Linked DNA regions of Homo sapiens: regions 2, 3 and 4 are each linked to region 1. The links are contacts of gene promoters, found by promoter capture Hi-C in human tissues and cell types (Jung and others, 2019). All regions are on one chromosome and are shown on one strand. Each heading gives the region's core, a stretch centred on a gene start or on the middle of the fragment in contact. The rest is flanking DNA. Distances are from core to core; before and after follow the strand shown.

Region 1 (6,301 bases), core at 2,761-5,260:
ATGGCTAACGTGGTGAAACCCCGTCTCTACTAAAAATACAAAAAATTAGCCAGGCATGGTTGTGGGCGCTTGTAGTCCCAGCTACTCGGGAGGCTGAGGCAGGAGAATGGCGTGAACCCGGGAGGCAGAGCTTGCAGTGAGCCCAGATCACGCCACTGCACTCCAGCCTGGGTGACAGAGCAGGACTCCGTCCCAGAAAAAAAAAAAAAAGTAATACACTGAACAGAAAGTTTAGCCAAAGCCTTCCTTTTCATCTAATATTTAGCAAATTAGAACAGGATAATACACAGGGTTGCTGACAGAAGTGGGCAATGGACCACTTTCCATAGAGTTACTTGGCAAGAATTAAAAGCTTTGATTCAGCAATTCTAATTTTGTAACCTATCCAAAGGATATAATCACAAATGCTACTTAAGATTTATCCACGTCAATATTTTTTGTGTCATCATTTATGCTAATGAAAATAAACCAATCTAAGTGGGAATTGATTGAAAAAGATCAGGCTTTATCTGTGATGAAATATTATGTGGTCATTAAAAATCATACTGTAGAAAAGTAAACACATGGGAAAATATTTAAAGGAGGAAGAAAGTGGAGCAAAAAGAATTCAACAAACACCAAATACTTGCAGTGTTGTGAACATCCTCTATAGAAAAAAGGATAAACTGTGCAACTCTAGGTGGAATTGCATTTTTCTCTAACACCTGAATTTTCCAAAGATAAATTATCTCATGTCATATTGGCTCAGAAGTAAGTTACTATTTGATTTATAAAGGAGCTAGAAGGTCCTCACGGGTAAGATTGTCCAACCACACACTTTATTTTGTCATCTCTCCCCTTGCAGCTAAGCCATATCTCACAAGCCAGAGAGAGACCACAGGCTCTGAGGACACTCACCTTGCGTGCTGGGCCACACCCACAGAGCCAGCAGGACCAGCCTCCAGACCATCCTGCCTCCTGCAGCTGAGCTCCTGGGAATACAGGAAACCCTTGTTAGTGATGAGTCCACAGCTGCAACCCTGCCTGTGAGCGAGACTGGCCCAGTGACTCACATGACCATTGAATAACAGTTTGCATATAAAACTCAGCACCAACTGGATTTGTGGCAAACTGAGAGCGAAGGAGGAAATTTACTCTTCAAGCAGGATTCTTCTAACTATAAGATTTGTTGAGCTAGCATTTGCCGGCAAGCACTGCACATCACGTTCTAAATATTCCTATTATTTCATCTTCATAATAGCCTGGGAGGTATGTGCTGCTCTAATTGTCCTCATTTTACAGATGAGCAAATGGAAGATGGGCAAGTTCAGCGCTTGCCTGGAGTAATTCTGTTCATACGACTCGTAGACAGGACTTAGATGTAGAAAGTTTGAATTTAGAAAAATATCCAGCCTGACAAAAATAATCTGTGAACGCATTTTGTGTAAATATCCAGCAAAAAACAGTTATGCATAACCTAATTAAATAGAATGAATATCAACTGTAAAAAAAAGTTACAAATAAACTTAATTTGGTGAATTATACTTACAAAACAACAGAACACTTGACTTAGCCATCATTTTGACCCTGCCTCTTTATTTTCCTGCAGGCCTGTTTTTCCATTCTTGGGGATTTTAAGTTGGCACAGCTCAGTGGAGGCTGGCCCCGAAGTCAGGAGATGTGGTCCAAAGCCCGGCTGGGCGATTAACCCTGTGGATCTCAGCTTCTCCTCTTCCGGGCGAGCATGAGCCTGAGGGTCCCAGGGCTCCCCAGGTCCCTTCCAGCAATTGGTCACACCCTGCTCTAGGTTGAAGGGAAGACTGAGACCCCAATTCTTCCCATATTTAGAATATCAAAGGCCGTTAACTTCTCATTGTTAATCCAAGGACTCTCCCTCTCCAGAAACAACATTTGGTAACCTGGAAATCCTCACCTTCCAGGAATAGAGAAACATTCCTCAGAAGAAGAGAAATGCTTGGCAGCACCTGCAGACCCCCCACCCATCTGCTGCTGGGACCCCCCCCCCAAACCATCTGCTCCCCCCAGTGCCGCCCCAGGGGTCCTTGGTGATTGTTTCATCTGTCCTGGCTCCGGAAGCAGCACGGCCTGCGGCCGGAGTCAGCACCAGGCTGAGCAATGCTGAGCACCAGCTGTGCAACCTAGGGAAACTTACTTAACTTCTCTGTCTCAGTTTCCTCATCCGTAGAATGAAACGTAGCGTCATGTAAAATGCCCACCTCATCGGGTTGTCATGAGAGATGAATTCGGCAAATGAAACTTCACCAGGGGCTGACTTAGCCCAGCGAGCCACAGGCATGGGTTACCGGAGCAGAATGTGCCTCTGGGTCTGGGGCGCTTTCTACTCTAACTGCCCGAGGCAGCTGCAGTAATAATGGTGGTGCTGATAGGGCCTTTCTATGGAGCTCTTAAGAGGGTTTAATGACAGGAGCGAACACTTGGCCATGAGCTTAGAACAGTACCTGCATGCAGTAAGCACCACAGAACGGTGTTAGAATACACAGCTCAGGTACAGCCTTGGCAGGCTCTTCCCACCTCCCCACCTCATCAGCCCACACTGCCGGGTACGTCGCAGTCCCCTAAGGACAGCTGTGTGGGGCTGGCCCTGCAGAGGCCAGCCAAGAACAGGATGGTAAATGCGAAAGTTCTGGATGCCCAGCTTCATAAGGACAGGTTAGAAAAACTAAATCAAACTCCTTTGACGAAACCAGATCCTACTGTCTCTGCCTTGAGGTAGATTCTTACAAGAGCAGGAGGCTAACAAAGCATCCCCTGCTGCGGATTGTCAAAGGACAGTGAGGCTCCATCCCACAGGAAGGATGAGCAGCCAGGCTACCTGGCCTCAGCCCATCCAGGGACACCGGGCATGCATGGATGGAGCCACGGATGAGCCAGTGCCGCTCACCCCTGCCCCAGCCTCTGCACGCCACACATCCACGTTTATGCTTGTGTTTTTCCAAAAGAAAGATTTCGGTGCCTGTCTGCAGCAGAATGTAGTTTGAATTTGCAAAGGTCTTTTAAAACTCTTTTCGTATGAACAATCAAAGTAAAAGATAGCTTTGCAGAGAGCTAATTGTTTACCGGCCGTCCACCACCAACAGCAGTCTGATTAAACACCAGACTCCTGGGTGCTCAGCTCCCAGTCCTGGGCAGCCAAACCCACCTTCCTTAAGTGGTAGCCAGGCAACCTGCCAGCTCGCTTTTCATATGCAAACTGCCCCAAGACTGTTAAAAGTCGCTGTGTGTCCCGGCAGTCACAGGATTTTCCATAGACTTACCACAAATACTCTCTAGTTATGTTCAAAACCACTTTTCAGCTGCTAATAATGTTAACAATCAGAGTCTCTCTTTAATCTACTAATAATGTTAACAATCAGAGTCTCTCTTTAATCTACTAATAATGTTAACGATCAGAGTCTCTCTCTAATCTACTAATAATGATGTTAACAATCAGAGTCTCTCTCTAATCTCCAGTTACTTTTCAGATATTCCGGGAGTTGTTTCTAATTCTCTCCTCAATAACAAACTCTCATGTGGAATCTTCTTCTTCGGAAACTGAAAACATAAAGCGTTTACCCGGGTTCCCAGGCAGGTATATACATTGAAATAGCAGCAGCCACAACCCTCAGAGAGGAAGGGGTGCCCGGCTGGTGAAAGCACAGCCACGGAGGAAAAGCTGAGGAGCGGCCACGTGCCTTGCTCTTCAAGCGGGCAGTAGAAACACCACGTGAAGAAACACTTGCCATTTAGTGTTAATAGATACACCACCCACCTTAAGTTAAGAATCGAAATTGCTCCTTTTTCTTCTCCGCTTCTTAGAGTTCGAGAACTCTAATTTCTTAAAATTAGAGCACCATTAAATAATTGATTGAGTTTAAGAAATAATCGTACCTGGTTTGCCAAAAAGATGCAGTGATGACTGGTTTCAGTGTTCCGGACCGAGTCAGAAAGGCGCAGGCTCTGCTGGAGCGAGAGACCGGCCCTGCAGTGCAGGATGCTCCGGTGGACGTGGCCGAGCGGCTCCCGGGCAGCGCGGCTTTATATGCCGCTTCTCCTGTGCAGGGCTGTCAATCAGACACACGAGGAAGCACGTTTAATTCATTCCTTCGAAGGAATGACATCATCCCCCTTCTGATCTCACCATTTGCTCCGAGTACCTGCTGCAGGGGTCCAAGTCCAGCCCCTCTGTACTGGATGCCGTCTCCTCCTCCTGCACCCCGGCCCCTGCCAGACAGGCCTGGGAGGAGCCAGACGGAGAGAGGGAAGGCAGGGACTCACTTTTCCTGTCTTCTCTCAGGAAATAAGATGCTATAAATAACACTAGCAAGATTGGCTAGAACTCCTCATTTTGCTTAAGAGAAAAAAATGCAAGTTCTATGCCTTAAATATGTTTCGAATTACTCAATGTGATATTGGTCTTTCTAAACCAAATGAGTGACTCTCAATAACACATGAAATACATCGGTGAGTATCAATAATCAGTCTGTATATTAATAAAGTTATTATGGTCAATAATCAAGTGTATTATGTGACAAAAATGAAATTTAATATAAAAGGAAGTTGCCAACATTTATCTCAGGCAGTTAGAGGACTGAAAAGCTGTACTGCAGCTTTGGGAAAATTCATTTTTACCCAAATTCTGCTTCATTTGCTCAGTGAGGATCCCCTAGAAGGACGTCTCCCAGTGGACGTGCAATACCCGTAGAAGGGTGTGTCCCAGTGGACGTACAGTACCCGGCCAAGTCCCCTTGGTGCACACTTGCACGTGGCCCCATCACAGGAACAACCTGACGTGCAGGCACAGAGCAAGGACTCGAGAGAACGAGAAGCAGTGGCAGCAGCTAACCCCCGCCCCTCCCACACCTCAGGCATCACCCGCAATCAGGGTGCACTCTGCATGGGGGTGGGGGGCACCGCTTCTCAGAGGTCAGGGTGGACGATGGATGCGGAGGGGCTGCTTCTCCCAGGTCAGGGTATACAGTGGAAAGGGGAAGCTGCTGCTCTAAGGTGGGGGTTGATGGTACATGGGGGAGGGGCTGCTTCTCCCAAGTTGGGCTGGACAGTGGATGGGGGAGGTGCCACTTCTCCCAGGCCAGTGTGAAAGGTGGATGGTGGAGAGGCTGTTTCTCCCAGGTCAGTGTGCAAGGTGGCTGGGGATGTGTTGTTTCTCCCAGGTCAGGGTTAATGGCAGACAGGGGAGCTGCTGCTTCTCCTGGGTTGGGGTGGACCTTGGATGGGGGAGGTGCTACTTCCCCAGGTGGGGTGGATGGTGACTGGGGAGCTGCTGCTTTGCCCGGAGCCACCTGCACCTGCTTCATGTCGGCACCTGCCTGTCAGGTTCCTTCACGTTTGTGTGGAGTTGTCAGCCTGGCCATGGATCCGTCAAGTCCTAGTTAGAGAACATTAAAGCGAATTTCTGTGGACACAACCCTTACTGTGTCTGTGGCAGGGGAGTGTCTCTTAAGCCTCCTGGCATTCCCCCACAGGGGTCCAGCGCTGCAGAGGTCGGCAGGCACCATGAAGAGCAAGCCTCACTTTCTGGCCTCTGTCTTCAGGGAGGATATGCGAGCGGGTGTGGGAGAGGGAAGGAGCTTTCATTTGTGAAAACCTCTGTTTTTCCTAATGGCACCTGTTTATTTATCACTTGGCAAACATCAGTTTCCGACACATGCACAGACAAAAGCCTCCAAGAGTGTATGTGTCATGTTTAAGGTACGTTATTTTGCTTTTTAAGCTATTAGGGACAAAGTCATCATTTGAATTAAAAAGTAGTTTAAATAGATTGATGTTATCTCAAATTCAAAAAAAGTATAAACCAGTTCCCCTTAAAGAATTTTCAGTGGATAATTATCCATTCATCAGTTTGAGTTTTTCTGCCTCCAGGTTAGTTTTTCCTGGGGCCAGAACATGGAGGGCGGCATCCCCTACTCTGCGTGCCACGGCCTCTCCTGTTCCTCAGTCCACAGAATGCGTGTTTCCTGATTAAAGCTGAAGACAGGCAGCTCAGCTGCTCAGCACTTCAGGAGCATGCGGTGAAGACCGTGACACTCACTGGGGAGCAGGAAGGTATGTATTCATGACTCCACGTGCCGATGGGCAGGTACAGAGAAGATGGGCCTCCTTCTGTAAAATCTGGCAGCCCAGAATCAGGGAAGTCTGTTTAGAGGAGACAGAAGGTAAGCCGATTGGAACATGGCCCGTGAATGGGGTGTCCCCAGTTGAGAAAGTATTTCAGGCAGAGAGAGTGGGTAGGTGTTCATGGTGCAAAGAACAGCAGGCTCCTGGTGCGGCACCCAGGCCAGGT
Region 2 (6,345 bases), core at 3,162-5,661, 320 kb before region 1:
CCCCCCACCCCACAACAGTCCCCAGAGTGTGATGTTCCCCTTCCTGTGTCCATGTGTTCTCATTGTTCAATTCCCATCTATGAGTGAGAACATGTGGTGTTTGGTTTTTTGTCCTTGTGATAGTTTACTGAGAATGATGATTTCCAATTTCATCCATGTCCCTACAAAGGACATGAACTCATCATTTTTTATGGCTGCATAGTATTCCATGGTGTATATATGCCACATTTTCTTAATCCAGTCTATCATTGTTGGACATTTGGGCTTTTAATACAATTAAACAAATATATATGTACATGTTCACACATGGGTATGGTAAAAAAAAAAAAAAAACTGATCGCTGAATTGCTTTTGTTAAGAAGCCAAACGACTGTACCTCAGTCTCTGGCAGCAGGATCCTGAGCCTGTTCTTGCAGGAGCCTGAGCCTGTTCTTATGATAACAGACAGCTCTGAACACAAATGTGCTGGTCTTCTTCAGCTTCACCCTTTCCAGTTCTCTATCTTCAGTATCTGTCTCGGGACCCACCTGTAACCTCCCTCGTGTCTTCCATTTCCGAAGGCAAGTTCCTTAGGTAGGAACCATCTCTGTGAAAGGGGAGGCTGCAATGGTGCCATGAAGAAAGACTGGGAATGGTTTCCGTGAAAACACAGGCAGGCCGGGCGCCACTTCTGAGTCTGATGTGTTTGACAACATCCTTCCGGTCTCCTTCCATCTTCTGCTCCTTCCTCTTCCCTCTGCCGAATTTTGCTCTTCTGCAGTTCTTGAGGCACATTTTAGGCCCTGACCAATAAAGACGTAAACAAGCACAAGCGGAAAACAAAACTAGCTTAACGAGTTCACTGCTAATTATTGCCTGTTAGCATGAAAAGAATAGCACAATTCTTCACATTTTTGGTTAAGGAAACGTTACCCACACATTCATATGTAAATTGATTCTGACCAAATTGTTTGGAGTGGGAATTTTAGTTTATCTGTGAGCACTGTCTCTCAGGGGCTGAGAATGAGCCCAGCAATGGGAACCATCGCATGCAGGAACACACACCCGCAACACAGACACATGCATGCAAACACAGCAGCACGTACACATGCAACGCTACACACAATGTGCACAATGCACACACACATGCATACAAGCACAGCAACACGTACACATGCGACACCACACACACATACAGTGTGCACAGTGCACACACACGCACACAAGGACAGCAACACAGACACATGTGACACCACACACACATGCACACAAGCACAGCGACACATACACGAGATACAATGCACACACACACATGCGCACACACACATGCACACACACAGCAACACATACACATGTGACACCACACACGCACGCACAGTGTGCATGATGCACACACACGCACGCACAGCAACACGTACACATGTGACACCACGCACAGTGTGCACAGTGCACACACATGCACACACACCCCACACACACTCACATCACAACTAAAAGACTGAAGCATCGTCGAGAGGAAACCTTCCAAAGCCATTGTATCTGCAGTGATATTGCCTATAAATCTCAGTCCATGTATTTAGTATGCAATAACTATCGCTAGCCTTATTATTGAAAATGCTATTTCTTTGTATTTCTGAGCTCAAATTTCACTAAGATTGGGGTAAACCTAACTTTAATTATTCTTCAGATGTATGCCTCAGTTTAGGAGACTTGCACGGGGCCAATAGGTTATTTACCTAGTATTTATATAATGCTCACCCAGTGTCAGGCACTGCTTCAAATGCTTGGTAAATATTAACTCATTTAATCCTTACAATAAATTCAGAGGGATGCGTGGTTTTACAAATGAGGAAGCTTAAGAACAGAGACGTGAAGTAACTTGCCTAAGGCGACATAGCATTAGGAAGGGAGTTGGCATCTGAACTCCTTGCCTGGCTCCAAACCTCATCCTCTCGGTCAGACCTCCTGAGGCCACAACATCTCTCTGCTCGCTTGGCCTTCTAGTTACAACACCCACCAGGCTGGGCCCCAGAACTATTTTGTGAAGGTGTCTGTTGACCCGGTTTTCCTAAACACACCTTATATTCCTGTCTGATGCTTCTTTACTTCACGCCAAGAAGCAAAGGACTGTCTCCAACTGTCTCCAAATGCTTAGACCTCCCCTCCGCACACGGAGGAGGGGTCTCCGTCTGTCATGGTGCTGGCATGCACCGGGGTCCTTTTTCTATCCCAGCCACTTCCAAGATGCCCTTTCCAAGACTTACCTGGTTTACAAACACCGTTCTTTTTTGTCTGAAAACTTCCAAGTTCTCCTGAAAGCCTAGGCTTTGGGAAGACCAATTCTTGATATGCAGCTACTTCTGTGTGAAGAGTGAGAAGAGAAGGAGGCGGTGGCAGGGAGAGGAAAACCCCGTGTGTGTGCACATTCCAAAACACCCACAGCCACAAACGGCAGATCCGATGTTTTATGGTACCTTTTTACTAAATGGTTGTGTTTCTTTCCTTCGTTCTACTGGCCCAAGTCCTAGGTGCTTACCACCATCAGCTGATGAGGAGGGCTCATTGGATGCTGCCGAGATTTGAAACAAGAGTCTTCCAAACCAAGGTTTCAACTGTGAAGTCGTTTCTTGCTTAAAGGGCCAGTGGAATCTCCTTAAAAAGGAATGGAACATCTTAGCACTCTGTATCTTTTGGCTGAGACGTATGCTTCAAAATAAGTGTTTTCCTGTAAACGGGTCCTTACTAAGTGTTGGGGTGAGTGAATATGTGCTCTTGAAATGTGTTATGGTGGAACGAAAGCTTCAGTCACCTGCAGACATTTCCCCGGCGGAGATAAGCTTCTTCCAGTCTGGGCCTGGAGTTTCCCTTACTCCATCGGAAAGGAACCCAGACTGGTGATAATGACAAGTTGGCAGTGTGGCTTTCATGCACCAGGGCCAGTGATGGAAATACTCTCTTACCCGAGGCTCGCAGAATGCTATAAACTTGGGGATGGAGGGGCCACAATGCTGGAGGGAAAAGCATAAAGCAGCCCGGAGACAAGAAACAGACTCGCCAATCAAATGCTGTGCCTTTTCCCTCGGTCCCAGGATGGCTGCCCTCATGATTCTGGTGTAGTCCCTGTCATCCAGCGCCACTGTGCCGGGCTGGCAATGCCAGTGCTCCATATTAGACAGAAGGACAAAGAAAGCTTTTAATTTAGTATCAGAGTAATGAAAACGCCTTCTTCCGCGGATACTGTAACACTGGCAGGGTTTTAAGTAAATGGAATCAGATATTTAAAAAGGATTTGCCGAAAGGAATTAGGAAAGAATGCTTCAAAAACATTTTAAATGCTGCTTAGTAGAGGCTCAGTGTTCACCTAAATCAAAGATGTTTTCCCCATATATTTATTTTAATAATTTAAAATATGTCTACATGTACTAATTACCTATATTTATCTATCTGAATTTTTTCTTCAATGACCAATATACAATGAGTGGTATATACTGCATGTGTACTGTTTTAAAGACATACTGTATATTTAGGAAAAGGGGTTTCACATTTCTGCCACTTTGTGGATCCCTCTGCTTGGCTATCTTTTTAAATTTATAGGCCTTATTTCCCATTAAGACTGGAACACCTTCCAAAATATTTTCTTTTTTTAGACATCTATAATAAGATGAAATAACAGTAGTGGCAAATTCACTGCGCTCTTGAAGCATCTGTTGGAGCTCTCTCTTTGTGGGGGTAAACCAGCCGCCAAACAGATCACCTGCACGGAAAGTCCTTTGCTCATTTTGTGGATCTGAGTTGCTGCCAACTTTTCCGGGTGTTCATGTTCAGAAGGAGAAGCAAGATGGCCCTGTTAAAAAGTCCTACATGGCATTTGTCAAGGATGTTCTGCTCAGGAGAGAGACTGAGGCTTCCGGTGAGAAAACCCTGCAGGCTGGGGAAGTGCACCTCGAGCTGACCCCTTGTTCAGGGAGCTGATGAAGGCACATGCCATGGGAATGAGAAAGCCACTCCTTAAGCATCAGTAACAGAAGGTGCCATGTGGATAATACAGGGGCTGAAAAATCATAAGATTATTTGGGTGTCCCCACCCAAATCTCATCTCGAATTCCCACATGTTGTGGGAGGAATCTGGTGGGAGGTGATTGAATCATGGGGGCAGGTCTCTCCTGGGCTGTTCTTATGATCGTGAGTGGGTCTCATGAGATCTGATGGTTTTAAAAACAGGAGTTTCCCTGCACAAGCTCTCTTCTCTTGTCTGCCACCATGTGAGACATGCCTTTCACATTCCGCCATGATTTTGAGGCCTCCCCAGCCACACAGAACTGGGTCCATTGAACCTCTCTTTTGTAAATTGCCCAGTCTCAGGTATGTCTTTATCAGCAGCATGAAAACACACTAATACAGGTAGGTTCAGACAAAGAGTCATTGGCTCCACATGGTGGCAGCTCCTATGCCTCCTGCCTGAGCTGAGGGTCTGTGGCTGCAGGCCCAGCTCAGGAAAGGAGCTGCTGGAAACTGGAATGATATGAAATAGACCCATCTACAGTTTTTCTGGTCATCTGTTAAAAAAGAATTTAATGCTTACAAGATAACTATCATTGGTAGTAATAGTCTAGGCCCATGACATTCTTTAATATTTGGGAGTATCAGAACTTTAAAGATTAGACTTAGTTATAAATAGAATATTTATTTAGGAACTTAGAGACATCTGGGCATTTCATGTCATGAAAGTAACAAAACCCTCCCTCTTTGCACGGCTCCAGTACAAATCATGACTGCTGTTGGAGAGGCTCTGATACGCTGTGCGTGCAGATGGTGCCCGAGAGCCGGGGAACAGCAGCATCTCACCCGGGCTTTCTCCTTTCCATCTGGCAGGTGCCAGCTTCTAACCACCATCAGCTGCCATGTCCACTGCCATCTGTTTAGCTAATGGACAGGGAGCACCTACTGTGGGCCAAGCCCCCGACAGGCACCAGAGATTGGGTGGAGATAGACAAAACCAAGCACAGACAAATTCAATTAGTTGTTTTCTGGAGGAAAGAAACAAGAACCATGCATGAGAACATCTTGTTCTTGACATCTTCAACCAGACACTGAGGTCGGCTCTCGTCAGCAGCTGGGTCTCCTTGAGGTTCACTGGATGGGGAGGTTGTCTGCATTTCACGTTTTAATTAATTTTTAAAAGTTACTTAGATGAATTATTTCATTGGCTACGTATCATCCTGTGCCAAAAAACAAACTGTGAAGCCCAGCAGCATATATATTTTAAAATGCAGTTACAAAAAAGCATAAATATGAAAACAAAAACAAACAACTAACCATTATTGATTGTGTCATACTAAAACACTGTTTTAATTTTGTGGTATGTTTTGGGGACTTTTTCCAATTTATTCTCTGAAATAATGTTGTATTCAGAGCGTACACCAAGAATAGGAGCCCGTTTTTTATCCATTTAAGATTCTCTCCCGTTTCTATCTATTGCTCATTTGCTGAACCTCTTGTCTCTTTGACTAACAGTATTTAAAGGTCTAATGAAATATTTCAAAGCAGTTATGAATAATGAGGTAATAGATGAGTACAAGCCACTAGCAGAAGACATGAAATGTGGCAAATGCTGCAAAGCAAAGGCTTCACTTCCATCGCTGCCTTCTCCCATTCCTCAAGTTATCACTGACTGCATTGGTGTTTATTCTTCCCAAACATCTATTCGTATTTTACTACAAATGTATGGAGGCTTGTGCAATATTTGATATTGATCTATTTTTTTAATGTGTATAAGGGGAATCTTACATTATACATTTTTCATGACTGGCTTCATATGTTAAACATGTTCCTCATGAGATTAATTCAGGTTGAGGTGTGTAGACACTGTTTATTTATTACCACATCAATGAATGCATTACTATTCACACAGTCCAGTGTTTTCGTAGACGTTTACTTGTTTCCAATATTTCATCCCATTAGACCCTTGTGGAAGGACTTTTTCTACACTGGAAATCTAGGAGTGGAATAGCCGGGCCCCGGAGACACAGGAACACACTAGAAATCTAGGAGTGGAATATTTGGGCCCCGGAGCCACAGGAATGCGCTGGAAATCTAGGAGTGGAATAGCCGGGCCCCGGAGCCACAGGAACACACTGGAAATCTAGGAGTGGAATAGCTGGGCCCCGGAGCCACGGGAACGCACTGGAAATCTAGGAGTGGAATAGCTGGGCCCCGGAGCCACGGGAACGCACTGGAAATCTAGGAGTGGAATATTTGGGCCCCGGAGCCACGGGAACGCACTGGAAATCTAGGAGTGGAATATTTGGGCCCCGGAGCCACGGGAACGCACTGGAAATCTAGGAGTGGAATATTTGGGCCCCGGAG
Region 3 (5,949 bases), core at 3,139-5,638, 440 kb after region 1:
TGGAACTGGAGGTCATTATGTTAAATGAAATAAGCCAGGCACAGAAAGACAAATATCACATGTTCTTACTCATATGTGGAAACTTAAAAAGTGGATCTTGTGGAAGTGGGGAGTAGAATGGTGGTTACTAGAGGCTGGGAAGGGAATTGGGGAGAGTGAAAAGAAGTGAGAGAAGGGATAAAAAATACAGTTAGATAGTAAGAATAAGTTCTGGTATTCAAGAGTACAGTAGGAAAATTACAGTTAATAATAACTTATTATATAATTCAAAATAGCCAGAAGAAAAAAACTATAATGTTACCAACACAATAAAAAGATAAATGTTTGAGGTGATGGCCATCCCAATTATCCTGATTTGATCATAACACATTGTATACTTGTATCAAAATATTACATATACCCCCAAAATATGTACAACTATTACATGTCAATAAAAATTAAATTGCCATATGATTCTATTTACATAAAACTCTAGAAAATGCAAACTAAAGGGACAGAAAGCCTATATTTATAATATAAAGAACTCCTTCAAATCAATAGAAAAAAGACAGATAATCCAATAGAAAAAAATGGCAAGAGATTTGAAAACATATATCACAAAAAACAATATCTAAATGGCCAATAAATGTGCTAAACCTCTTTAATAATCACAGAATTACTAATTATAATTAGGTACCACTATGCCCTTTTCGAAAGGCTAAAATAAAAATAAACAAGTGTAGGTGAAGATATGGTTCAACTGAAAGTCACACACCATTAGAAGAAATACAGATTGGTACAACCAATTTGGAAATCTGCTTAGCATTATCTACTGAATATAGACATCCCTCACTATCATGAGGAATTGATTCCAGGAACCCCACATAAACCAAAATCTGTGTACACCCACATCCCACAGTTGGCTGTGTGGACTCCACATATATGAAAAGGTACCCCTCCAAATATGCAGTTTTCATATCCTGAAAATTCTATAGTTTTGACCCACATTGCGTTGAAAAAAATTCATGTATAAGTGAACCAGCACAGTTCAAACCCATGCTGTTCAAGAGTCAACTGCTTATGTATCCTTTACAACTCAGCAATTATGTGTGTGTGCACCAAAAGACATAGGAAAGAATCTAGCAGCCAAAAAACTGAAATACAACAAATGTCTACCAACAGAAGCATGGATAAAGTGTGGTCTACTTACATAAGTAGAATGTAATTCTATTTATCATTCTATAATAAAAAAGGATAAAGTGTCTATTTACATAAGTAGAATGTAATTCTACTTATTACTCTATAATAAAAATGTATTTTTATTTTAGCCTTTCAAAAACGGCACAGTGGTACCTAATAAATCCTAATACTGTGTAGCAATGAAAATGAACAACATGGATGAACCTCATAAACATGCTGATTAATCAAAGAAACCAGCACAAAAAAGTACGTAATGTATAATCACATTTATATAAAGTTCATCACAAGCAAAATTAACCTGTGGTATTAGAAGTCAAGATAGTGTTGCCTTTTGGGGAGGAGAGAAGTGGGCATTGACGGAGAAAAGGCATGATCTAGGGGTGGTTACCTGAACATATTCATTTAGTTATAGTCATTACAACATGCACTTATTATGTGGAACTTTTTTTTTCTAAGTAGTTTATACTTCACCGAAAAAGTGAGAAACGTCAATCTAAACATTCGAATGTAGGAGACTTGATTATGTTAAGATGAACCTTTTCAATCAGTTTCTTACTGAAGAAACTTATTAAATTAATTCCAAATCACTTGTGTTCTAAATATAAAAATATTATAAAATACATGAAAGTAAATTTAAAAATAAAAAAATATATATAATGTTTTTATCAATATTTTTCTCCTATAGTTGGTAGCTGAATCCACAGAGGGTAATGCTGTCCGAACAGCATCAAAGACATGGAGAGACAAGGGCAAGGCCTTCATGACACTGGACATGTAACTCGTTCAATACCTGATGAGAAGGATCCTTAGTGTTCCATATACAAAGTTCAGTTCCATCCAAAGGGAAAGCACAGTCCTGCATGCTGCAAGCAAGCTGAACATGAGACACAGACTCCTTGGATTCAACCAGGTATTTTTCTATAACTATATCACTTAGACAGCCACCATTACTTGAGAAAATGTCTTGGGGATTTTCCATCTTCAATCTGAAAACAAAAAGTACATATAAGATGACTATAGGTATCATATTTAATACAGAAAAAAAGTCTATTACCTACTGATAGTTACTAGTTTGACCACACACATATACCACATCATACCTATTTATTCACCTCTCCTCATCCCAAGAAAAAAGAAGAGAAATTGCCGAAAACTCTGGAGCTTCCACATTCTCAACTGCTCCATTCTTCTCACGGGCTTTCCAGTTAAGCAAACCTTGACTCAAATACCACTATTCCCACTTCACAGAGCCTGCTTAGGCTTCCTCGATCAGCTTCCACAACTGTCAAATGAGAACAGTTACTGAGAGGCAAAGACTAAACAATGATCCATGTGGCATGGGTGCAGCGCTGTGGCACTTAGCGTTCTAAACGTTGGTTACTGAAATGACTAAGACACAAAGTTATTTTCTGAATTGACCACAGCAAATCAGTTGTTAGGAAACTGCAATTGGAACCCGCATCTCCCATAACTAACCTGGGCTTGATTCAACAATTTCACAACACTGTATGTAATTACAGTTAAGCTACCACAGGTTCTATAATCAGTGATTCACTGGCTATGTTTCGTAAAGCATAAACTAATGAAACACTGACAAAGATAAAATGTTTCAGATCTTCATCCAACTTTACACTTAACTTCACAGCATAATCACTTCAGAAACATGTGGGAATGGCACTGGGGTCATCCTTGATTCTGTTGTACCCCACACCCCACTGCAGGCCGGCAATAGATGCACCTGAAGGCACAGACAACAGACCTGCTTAGAAAGTGATGGGCAAGCACCCAAATATCCAGTGGGGTCATGCACGCTGTAGGTATTCAAAGGCCCACCCATGAGGCCCTCACACTGGTCACGTGGATTCAGAGGATCCACCCATGTGGCGCTCATGCTGGTCATGTGGATTCAGAGGATCCACCCATGCGGCCCTCATGCTGGTCATGTGGATTCACAGGATCCACCCGTGAGGCCCTCATGCTGGTCATGTGAATTCAGAGGATCCACCCATGAGGCCCTCATGCTGGTCATGTGGATTCAAAGGATCCACCCATTAGGCCCTCATGCTGGTCATATGGATTCAGAGGATCCAACCATGAGGCCCTCATGCTGGTCATGTGGATTCAAAGGATCCACCCATTAGGCCCTCATGCTGGTCATATGGATTCAGAGGATCCACCCATGAGGCCCTCATGCTGGTCATGTGGATTCAAAGGATACACCCATGCAGCCATCACACTGGTCACGTGGATTCGAAAAATCCACCCGTGTGCTCCTCATGCTGGCCCTGAGAGATTCTGCTAACCCAGCCTCTGCCTTTCTCTTCCTCTTCTCCAGCTCCTCCCTCCACTGCTACTCTATTTACTCTTTCTTCCAGCTCTTACAACACAGCAGGGCTTTTACTGCCTCAGCACGCACACTTTATCTTCATGTTCCATTCCTCCTCATCTCTGCACCTTGGGAGCTCTTCCCATTCTCCAGGTCTCAGCAGAGGCCCCTGAGAGCTGGCTCCCATCCCTGCCCCCCTACCCCATCCACCTCCTTCCCAGCACTTCACACAATCTAAACTATTTTGCCCTTAGGAGGCAGCAGGACATGGATCCATGGCCAGACTGATAGGATGGAATCCTTTGTCTGAAGGACCCTTGATCAGACAGGAATTGCATAGAAAGAAAGAGCACTGTAGGGTGCTACTCATCAGCAGGACCTTCCGCTGCCTGCCTCCCAGCCCCTTGACTGAGAAGTCTGACATTCCAGTGCAAGGTGTGACCGTTCAGTACCACCTCTGTGCTGCGGGCGGGGCAGCAGTAACAATTTCCTGTGTGCAGGGGGGAGCAGAATTTCACAAGAGAAGTGAAGCAAAGGAGAATGGACCACTCGAGATCATCTTCTGAAAATACTTCAAAAGAGGCCGGGCACGGTCGCTCACGCCTGTAATCCCAGCACTTTGGGAGGCCGAGGCGGGCGGATCACGAGGTCAGGAGATCGAGACCATCCTGGCTAACACGGTGAAACCCTGTCTCTACTAAAAATACAAAAAATTAGCAGGGTGTGGTGGCGGGCACCTGTGGTCCCAGCTACTCAAGAGGCTGAGGCAGGAGAATGGCGTGAACCTGGGAGGCAGAGCTTGCAGTGAGCCGAGATCGCGCCACTGCATTCCAGCCTGGGCAACAGAGCGAGACTCTGTCTCAAAAAAATTAAATTAAATTAAATTTTAAAAAAACGTAATTTTTAAAGGCTTGAAAATTCTCAATATTTGGAGAAAAACAAAATAAAAGCATGTGTACATTATTTTAAAGCAAATTTGTCTCCAATTCACAATTTTTATCTCACTTTTTTTTTAATATTTGCAAAGATACTTTGAGTGTCATATGAAAATAGCTACACCTTCCAAAGCTACCACAGTTACTCAGTAGACTCTGTAACTTGAGCATGGCAGTAGGTGCTGGGCAGATGTGTCCTAAGGGAACAATACGAACCTGCTGTCACCAGATCCACTGCTTCCCAAAACATAAAACATCTTCGGAGACAGATGAAGAATACATAAAAAATTATAGTTGTTTCAAAAATGCTAATAATACACTCATCAAATTGTGATTGAGTTCCATCTTTTTCTTCAACATAAACTTTTGTTGTAGTATAATTATCTTATTCTCTTCTGTAATTCCTATAGAATTCAGCAGCATTTTACAAATAATAGTACTTGTATGCCAATTTGCAGTTTACAAACCACTTCTGTAGACATTAATAAGCAGGTTTCTATATATGAGTACATAGATTATCATTATTACAGTGACCCTTTAAAGTGGTTAGGCAAGAAGACGGCAGCTAGGAGACAGGACTAATGTGCATCTCCCACTAGGATGGACTGAAAGGCATGTGGATACTCATACTGTGAAGTTTTGTTCCAAGAACCACTGCAGGAATGTACCAAAAAAAATGAAAGAATTCACAGATCCTTTTAAAGAAGCAGCAGGCCACTGCAAATTCCATGAGACAGGCAAAAAACTGTGAGTTCCCAAAATGTGAGAGGGGGGAAAACTGCCTCCAAACACCCCCACTGGGGAATCTAAAAATCAATATCACAGGAGAAGGATGTAACCTTACCTAGAGCTGAAGCATATTTAGGCAGCCAAGCGAAATATAAAAGTAGAAGCAGCAGTGAGAAGAGCCTTGTAGGCACTCCTAGTCTCCAGCTCCAGTCCAGGGAAGCCATCCCTGACTGTATCTCATAGGGGTCCTCCCTCAGAAAAGACAGCCAGAGGAATTAGGGAGAGGTCATAGGGTGAAAGAAGCTTCCAACTGAATTATGTGATAATTTAGACTGGGCATGAACTTCCTTGAGCAGAATCAGGAGTGGGTAAAAGGGAAGTGCTACAGATATGAGCACAGGAGCTGCCAACACTGTGGACAGATGGGGAGGGGCAAGACCTGAAAGCCAGCCATGCTCGTTTTCTCAGTGCAGAACTTATGGCCATGCTCGTTTTCTCAGTGCAGAACTTATGGCCTGGGGCAGGGCTGAGTCCCACACACAGGCTGTCTGCATCTAAACCTGGTGCTGTTAGCTGGGCACTGTGGGAGCAAGACCAGCTTCACAAACTGCATGGGAGCTGGGTGAGGCCTTTCACTACCGGCTTTCCCCCACTTCCCTGGCAACCTATGTGATGCGTCAGACACAGCCACAATCCCCTCTGGAACATAACTCCATTGGCCCAAGAACCACTCCCACGTCTCCCACAGCAGCTGCAGCAAGCCCTGCCCAGGGAGACTCT
Region 4 (6,366 bases), core at 2,061-4,560, 480 kb after region 1:
CATTTCTTCTAGATTTTCTAGTTTATTTGCATAGAGGTGTTTGTAGTATTCTCTAATGGTAATTTGTATTTCTGTGGGGTCAGTGGTGATATCCCCTTTATCATTTTTTATTGTGTCTATTTGATTCTTCTCTCTTCTTATTAATCTAGCTAGTGGTCTTTCTATTTAGTTAATTTTTTTTCAAAAAACCAGCTCCTGGATTCATGGATTTTTTGGAGGGTTTATTGTGTCTCTGTCTCCTTCAATTCTTCTCTGATGTTAGTTATTTTTTGTCTTCTGCTAGCTTTTGGATTAGTTTGCTCTTGCCTCTGTAGCTCTTTTAATTGTGATGTTAGGGTGTTGATTTGAGATCTTTCTAGCTTTCTGATGCAGGCATTTAGTGCTGTAAATTTCCCTCTTAACACTGCTTTAGCTGTGTCCCAGAGATTCTGGTATATTACCTTTGTTCTCATTGGTTTCAAATAACTTCTTGATTTTTGCCTTAGTTTCATTATTTACCCAGGAGTCATTCAGGAGCAGGTTGTTCAACTTCCATGAAATTGTGTGGTACTGAGTGAGCTTCTTAATCCTGAGTTCTAATTTGATTGCACTGTCGTCTGAAAGACTGTTTGTTATGATTTCAGTTCTTTTGCATTTGCTGAGGAGTGCTTTACTTCCAATTATATGGTTGATTTTAGCATAAGTGCCATATGGCACTGGAAAGAATGTATATTCTGTTGATTTGGAGTAGAAAGGTCTGTAGACGTCTACTAGGTCCACTTGATCCAGAGCTGAGTTCCAAGTCCTGAATATCCTTGTTAATTTTCTGTCTCATTGATCTGTCTAATACTGACAGTGGGGTGTTAAGGTCTCTCACTATCACTGTGTGGGAGTCTAAGTCTCTTTGTAGGTCTCTAAGCATATGTTTTATGAATTTGAGTGCTCCAGTATTGGGTACATATATATTCAGAATAGTTAGCTCTTCTTGTTGAATTGTTCCCTTTACCATTACATAGTGCCCTTCTTTTTTGATCTTTGTTGGTTTAAAGTCTGTTTTGACAGAGACTAGGATTGCAACCCCTGTTTTGTTGTTGTTGTTGTTGTTTCGTTTTTTTGTTTGTTTTTTTTTTTGCTTTCCATTTGCTTGGTAAATTTTCCTCCTTCCCTTTATTTTGAGCCTGTGTGTCTTTGCATGTAAGATGGGTCTCCTGAATACAGTACACTGACAGGTGTTGACTCGTTATCCAATTTGCCTGTCTGTGTCTTTTAATTGGTGGCATTCAGCCCATTTACATTTAAGGTTAGTATTGTTATATGTGAATTTGATCCTGTCATAATGCTATTTGATTATTTTGCACACTAGTTGATCCAGTTTCTTCATAGTGTCATTGGTCTTTATATTTTGGTGTGTTTTTGCAGTGGCTGCTACCAGTTTTTCCTTTCCATATTTAGTGCTTCTTTCAGGAGCTGTTGCAGAGCAGGCCTGGTGGTAACAAAATCCCTCAGCATTTGCTTGTCTGGAAAGGATTTTATTTCTCCTTCGCTTATGAAGCTTAGTTTGGCTGGATATGAAATTCTGGGTTGAAAATTATTTTCTTTAAGAATGTTGAATATTGACCCTCAATCTCTTCTGGCTTATAGAGTTTCTGTGAGATGTCGGCTGTTAGTCTGATGGGCTTCCCTTTGTATGTGACCTGGCCTTTCTCTCTGGCTGCCCTTAACAGGTTTTCCTTCATTTTAACTTCAGAGAATCTGGCAATTATGTGTCTTGGGGTTGATCTTCTCATGGAGTATCTTAATGGTGTTGTCTGTATTTTCTGAATTTACATGTTGGCCTGTCTTCCTAGGTTGGGGAAGTTTTCCTAGATAATATCCTGAAGTGTGTTTTCTAGCTTGTTTCCATTCTCCCCATCTCCTTCTGCTACTCCAATCAATCGTAGGTTTGGCCTTTTTATGAAGTCCCATATTTCTTGGAGGCTTTGTTCATTCCTTTTCATTCTTTTTTCTCTATTCTTGTCTGTATATCTTATTTCAGTAAGGTGGTCTTCAAACTCTGATATCCTTTCTTCCACTTGGTCGATTCTGCTGTTGATACTTGTGTATGCTTCACGAAGTTCTCATGCTGTGTTTTTCAGCTCCATCAGGTTGGTTATGTTCTTCTCTAAGCTGGTTATTCTAGTTAGCAATTGCTCTAACTTTTTATGAAGGTTCTTAGCTTCTTTCCATTGGGTTAGAACATGCTCCATTAGTTGATCATAATTTTTTTATTACACATCTTCTGAAGTCTACTTCTGTCAATTCATCCCTCTGATCCTCCGTCCAGTTCTGTGCCCTTGATGGAGAGACACTGTGATCATGTGGAGGAAAAGAGGCACTCTGGCCTTTTGGGTTTTCAGCATTTTTTTCATTGATTCTTTCTTATCTTCATGAGTTTGTCTAGTTTTGGTCTTTGAGGCTGCTGACCCTTAGATGGGGTTTTTGTGGGGGCCTTTTTTGTTGTTGTTGTTGTCATTTTCTGCTTCTTTGTTTTTCTTTAAATAGGCCCCTTTTCTGTAGGGCTGCTGCAGTTTGCTGGGGTGAATGGCCCTACTCATCTGATTTGCTCTTATACCTGGAGATGTCACTCAAGGAAGCTGGAAAGCAGCAAAGATGGGTGCCTGCTCCTTTTTCTGGGACCTCTGACCTTGAGGGGCACCAGCCTGATGCCAGTAGGATCACTCCTGTATAGGGTATCTGACAACCCCTGTTGGAGGGTCTCACCCAGTTGGGTGACACAGGGAGCAGGACCCATCTAATGAAGCAATTTGTCCCTTAGTAGAGAGGGTATGTTTCACTGGGGGAAACCCACTTGTCTGGGCTGCCTGGATTACTCAGAACTACCAGGAGGAGAGGCTAAGCCTGCTGGTCCACAGAGACTGCAGCCACCCCTCCCACTAGGGTCTCAGGCCCAGGGAGATCCAAATTCTGTCCCTGAGCCTCTGGCTGGAGTTATTGGAGATCCTGCAGGAAAGCCACTGAGGAAGGATGGGTCAGAGTTAGACCTGAAGAGGCACTCTGGCCGCAGACTGCCACAGCTGGTGTGTTGGGCTGTGGGGACAAGTCATGGGACCAAGCTGTCCAGCCTGCCTGGCTCCAGCAGGGGAAAAGCGCAGCCTGGAACTATAGAAATGGGTGCTGCCCTTCCCCTACCCAGGGGGCTTAGCATGTTAGGCAGTTGCAAGTCCCAGTGCTGGCTGCTGCCCCTCCCACAAGGAGTTCAAATGGCTTAGACATCAGGCAGCTGCAGCCAGTGCTGGCCACCCTTCCTCATGGGAATTGGGTAAGCTTAAGCAGATTCCAGCTGAGAGGCTGTACGAATCTGCGCGTTCCAGGGTTGTGATGCTAGCCCCAGTGGCGTGGGTTTGCAAGTGGAATCTTCTGATCTGTGGGTTGCACAGTTCCATGGAAAAACAACAGTTTCCCTGGCTGGGTAGCACTCTTACTCACCACCTCCCCTGGCTTGGGGGAAGGGGGTTCCCCTTCCCCATGTGGCTCTCAGGTGGGCTGCCACACCACACTGCTCTTCCTTCTCTGTGTGGGTAATGCCAGCCTTCTAGTCAATTTTGATGAGAGAACCTGGATACCTTGGTTGCTGGTGAAGGATTCACATGCTTATGCTTTTTTTCCCATAGGAGCCTCCTACATGGTGCTGCTTCTAGTCGGCCGTCTTGGCCCCACCCCTAGTTTTGCATGGCTGGGAGGCCTCAGGAAACTTAAAATCATGGCGCAAGGCAAAGGGAAAGCAACGCACCTTCTTCACAAGGCAGCAGGAGGGAGCTGGAGTGATTTTCTAAGAATAATTCTGGCCAAACTTTCATGCACTCCCGCAGCCAAACTCCATTTGGATCTATTCAGGCAGGAATCATATTTCAGCTCCTTAACTCTCATAAGTGGAAACTGACACCAACTCATTATAAAACCTAAGTGGAAAAAAAAACCCTTCTCTGCCATTTTTATCTCCTTGTTTATAGATAATTCAACTAATAGGTATTTTTACTTGTCAATATTGACATGGTTGTTTTCAGTTCTGGTTGTAATGATGAAAATCATACTGATTATCACAGGTATTGCTTGCCTCCCACAAGTGCACACCCTGCCTCCCTGCTAGAAGAGTCCCAATTTGTACACTGGATCCACAATTTTCTCCTTTTTTTTTTTTTTTTTTTTAAGAGATGGAGTCTTGCCATGTTGCTCAGGCTGGTCTCAAATTCCTGGGCTAGAGCAATCCTCCCACCCTGGCCTTCCCATGTGCTGGGATTATAGGAGTGAGCCACTGTGGCTGGCAAATAGCCACACTTTTCACATGATCTCACGCTTCAGAAAAGGTAGGCTCCAGCCCCAATCTTAAGGAGGGAATTACAACTGGTCTAGTCATAGGAACATGATTAAATTCTGTCAAGCAAAATGAATGTACGTGGAAGTCTGTGGGGAGAATGGGAAGTTGGAGAGAACCTGGATCCTTGATCAAATCCCTGGGAAATAAAATTTTCCTCATTTCTTTAAACAATTAATATGAATTTTCAGTTCTTGCATCTGAAAAAAAGATCCTAGAAGGCTCACAGAGCCTAACAGAGCCTAATAGATTAGTAAATTGACTACACACTTGTAAGCAGTTTGGCTGGAGCGGGAGGATATTAGGGAATTATGAAATATAATAACATCTTTCTTTCAAACTTGGTAATTCCTTTCAAAACAATGAATACAAAGTATTAAAATATCATTAGAAATTTCCAAAATCTATCTTAACATCTACTGAATTTGATACTTTACAAGGTTGCATTTTAATTTCCTGTAGCAAATTATCATTTTCTTAAATCTTACAAAAATGATATTTTCCCTATACTCTACTATAAGAATTTGTATATACATACATATATACACACACAGACACACATGCATACACCTTTTATACTACTTTGGCATAATATTATGTTAGTTAATATAACAGTAAGTATAAATATAAAAATCTGGCTTCTACTTTGTTGTTAAAATAATACAATTGAAAGGCCTCAAATGAGAATAAGAATATAGCAAATCAGAAATATTATGAGGTTTACAAATATGTAAATTTCATTTATTTTTGAAAAGTTCGGAAGTAAACAATCCTTAGTACCTGTAATGAGCTATTCATAATAAAGGGCAAACACCAAGACCAGTGCCACGTAGGATTCTGCTTCGTGTTTAGCTGCGACCCAGCTGTCCCATGCAATGTCCCAGATCCATCTGCTGGCAATCTGTGAGAGAAATTTTGTAAAGACCAACTTTAGATTGAACATATTAAGAAGTAATTTTCAAATCTACACTAGTTTTTTAAAAATGAATGCATCAGTATCTCAGAAATTATTTTTAAGATGTAATTTGTCTGGTTTTCCCTTTCATAAAGAGCCTGGAGAATGACGCTGCCCCAGCCCATCCTTCTTCTTTACCGGAGGCTGGCCTTTCTCTAAACAGAGAGAGGCTCCCTTAGCTGTGTTTCCAGGGCCAGGAGCAGAAGGCCCCTGGGAATGGGGATGTAGTGGCTCTGCATACAGTATGACTCTGCCATGTAGTCCATGATAAGGAAGTCTTCCCACCCTTTAAAGATTTTCAGCCAAAGAGGTTTGTCAGGGCCTTGCCTTGAAATGAAGAAATGGCAGTAACTATACAAGTAGGCTGTTACGGACAATTCTAACTCCTTTTCTCTGTGTACAAACCCATATGTGATCTGATTCCAGCCCACTTCTTTGTGGAGGATCTAAAATGGCCCCAATTTTTTTTTTTTTTTGAGACATAGTTTCACTCTTATTTCCCAGGCTAGAGTGTAATGGCGTGATCTCGGTTCACTGCAACCTCCACCTCCTGAGTTCAAGTGATTCTCCTGCCTCAGCCTCCTGAGTAGCTGGGATTACAGGTGCCTGCCACCACATCCAGCTAATTTTTGTATTTTTAGTAGAGATGGGGTTTCACCATGTTGACCAAGCTGCTTGAACTCCTGACCTCAGCTGATCCACCCGCATCAGCCTCCCAAAGTGCTGGGATTACAGACATGAGCTACCACGTCTGGCCGAAAAAGGCCCAAATTCTTTATGGCTTCTCCTATTAGGAAGTTGACTTTATGTCCCCACCCTGTGAATAAGTCTTGGCCTTGTGACTTGCTATGAGTTGTAAAATATGACACTGTGAAACTTCCAAGCAAGGCCTTCAGAGGTCTTGTAGCTTCTGCTCTCACACTCGTGGAACACTATGCTGAGACCCCCATGTTATGAAAGCCCACTCAACCTATTGGAGGATGCTGGCTCACATGCAGGAGAACCCAGGTGCCCAGGCCACAGCTAGCCCACCAGTCAGACAAGTGACAGAAGCCATCTT

What was found. The method cuts DNA at HindIII sites, captures the fragments that hold promoters and counts their contacts. A contact is called where the count stands out against the background at its distance.
Region 2: a fragment that was not itself captured here is called in contact with the fragment with the promoter of THBS2 in region 1 in 2 of the 25 tissues and cell types used here (H1 embryonic stem cells and heart left ventricle).
Region 3: a contact is called between a fragment that was not itself captured here and the fragment with the promoter of THBS2 in region 1, in 1 of the 25 tissues and cell types used here (small bowel).
Region 4: a fragment that was not itself captured here is called in contact with the fragment with the promoter of THBS2 in region 1 in 1 of the 25 tissues and cell types used here (IMR-90 fibroblasts).

The regions. Positions count from the first base shown.
Region 1 is chr6:169,249,836-169,256,136 of GRCh38, forward strand. THBS2 (thrombospondin 2) reads right to left here and starts at 4,011. Exons shown (of 22, transcript NM_003247.5): 1 at 3,889-4,011; 2 at 898-971. The coding sequence starts at 949. RefSeq lists enhancers at 1,547-2,060, 2,573-3,085, 3,086-3,597. The HindIII fragment of the contact is 15,923 bases long and covers 1-6,301 here.
Region 2 is chr6:168,925,214-168,931,558 of GRCh38, forward strand. LOC105378146 (a long non-coding RNA gene) reads right to left here. Exons shown (of 4, transcript NR_136250.1): 4 at 2,528-2,631. Among named protein-coding and RNA genes, the nearest start is that of LINC01615, 230 kb to the right of the region's middle. The HindIII fragment of the contact is 7,573 bases long and covers 626-6,345 here.
Region 3 is chr6:169,686,848-169,692,796 of GRCh38, forward strand. WDR27 (WD repeat domain 27) reads right to left here. Exons shown (of 26, transcript NM_182552.5): 2 at 1,970-2,165. The coding sequence starts at 2,158. Among named protein-coding and RNA genes, the nearest start is that of WDR27, 12 kb to the right of the region's middle. RefSeq lists an enhancer at 5,780-5,949. The HindIII fragment of the contact is 7,100 bases long and covers 839-5,949 here.
Region 4 is chr6:169,735,044-169,741,409 of GRCh38, forward strand. It overlaps DYNLT2 (dynein light chain Tctex-type 2), which reads right to left. Exons shown (of 4, transcript NM_174910.3): 4 at 5,066-5,252. The coding sequence ends at 5,142. Among named protein-coding and RNA genes, the nearest start is that of DYNLT2, 13 kb to the right of the region's middle. The HindIII fragment of the contact is 6,025 bases long and covers 299-6,323 here.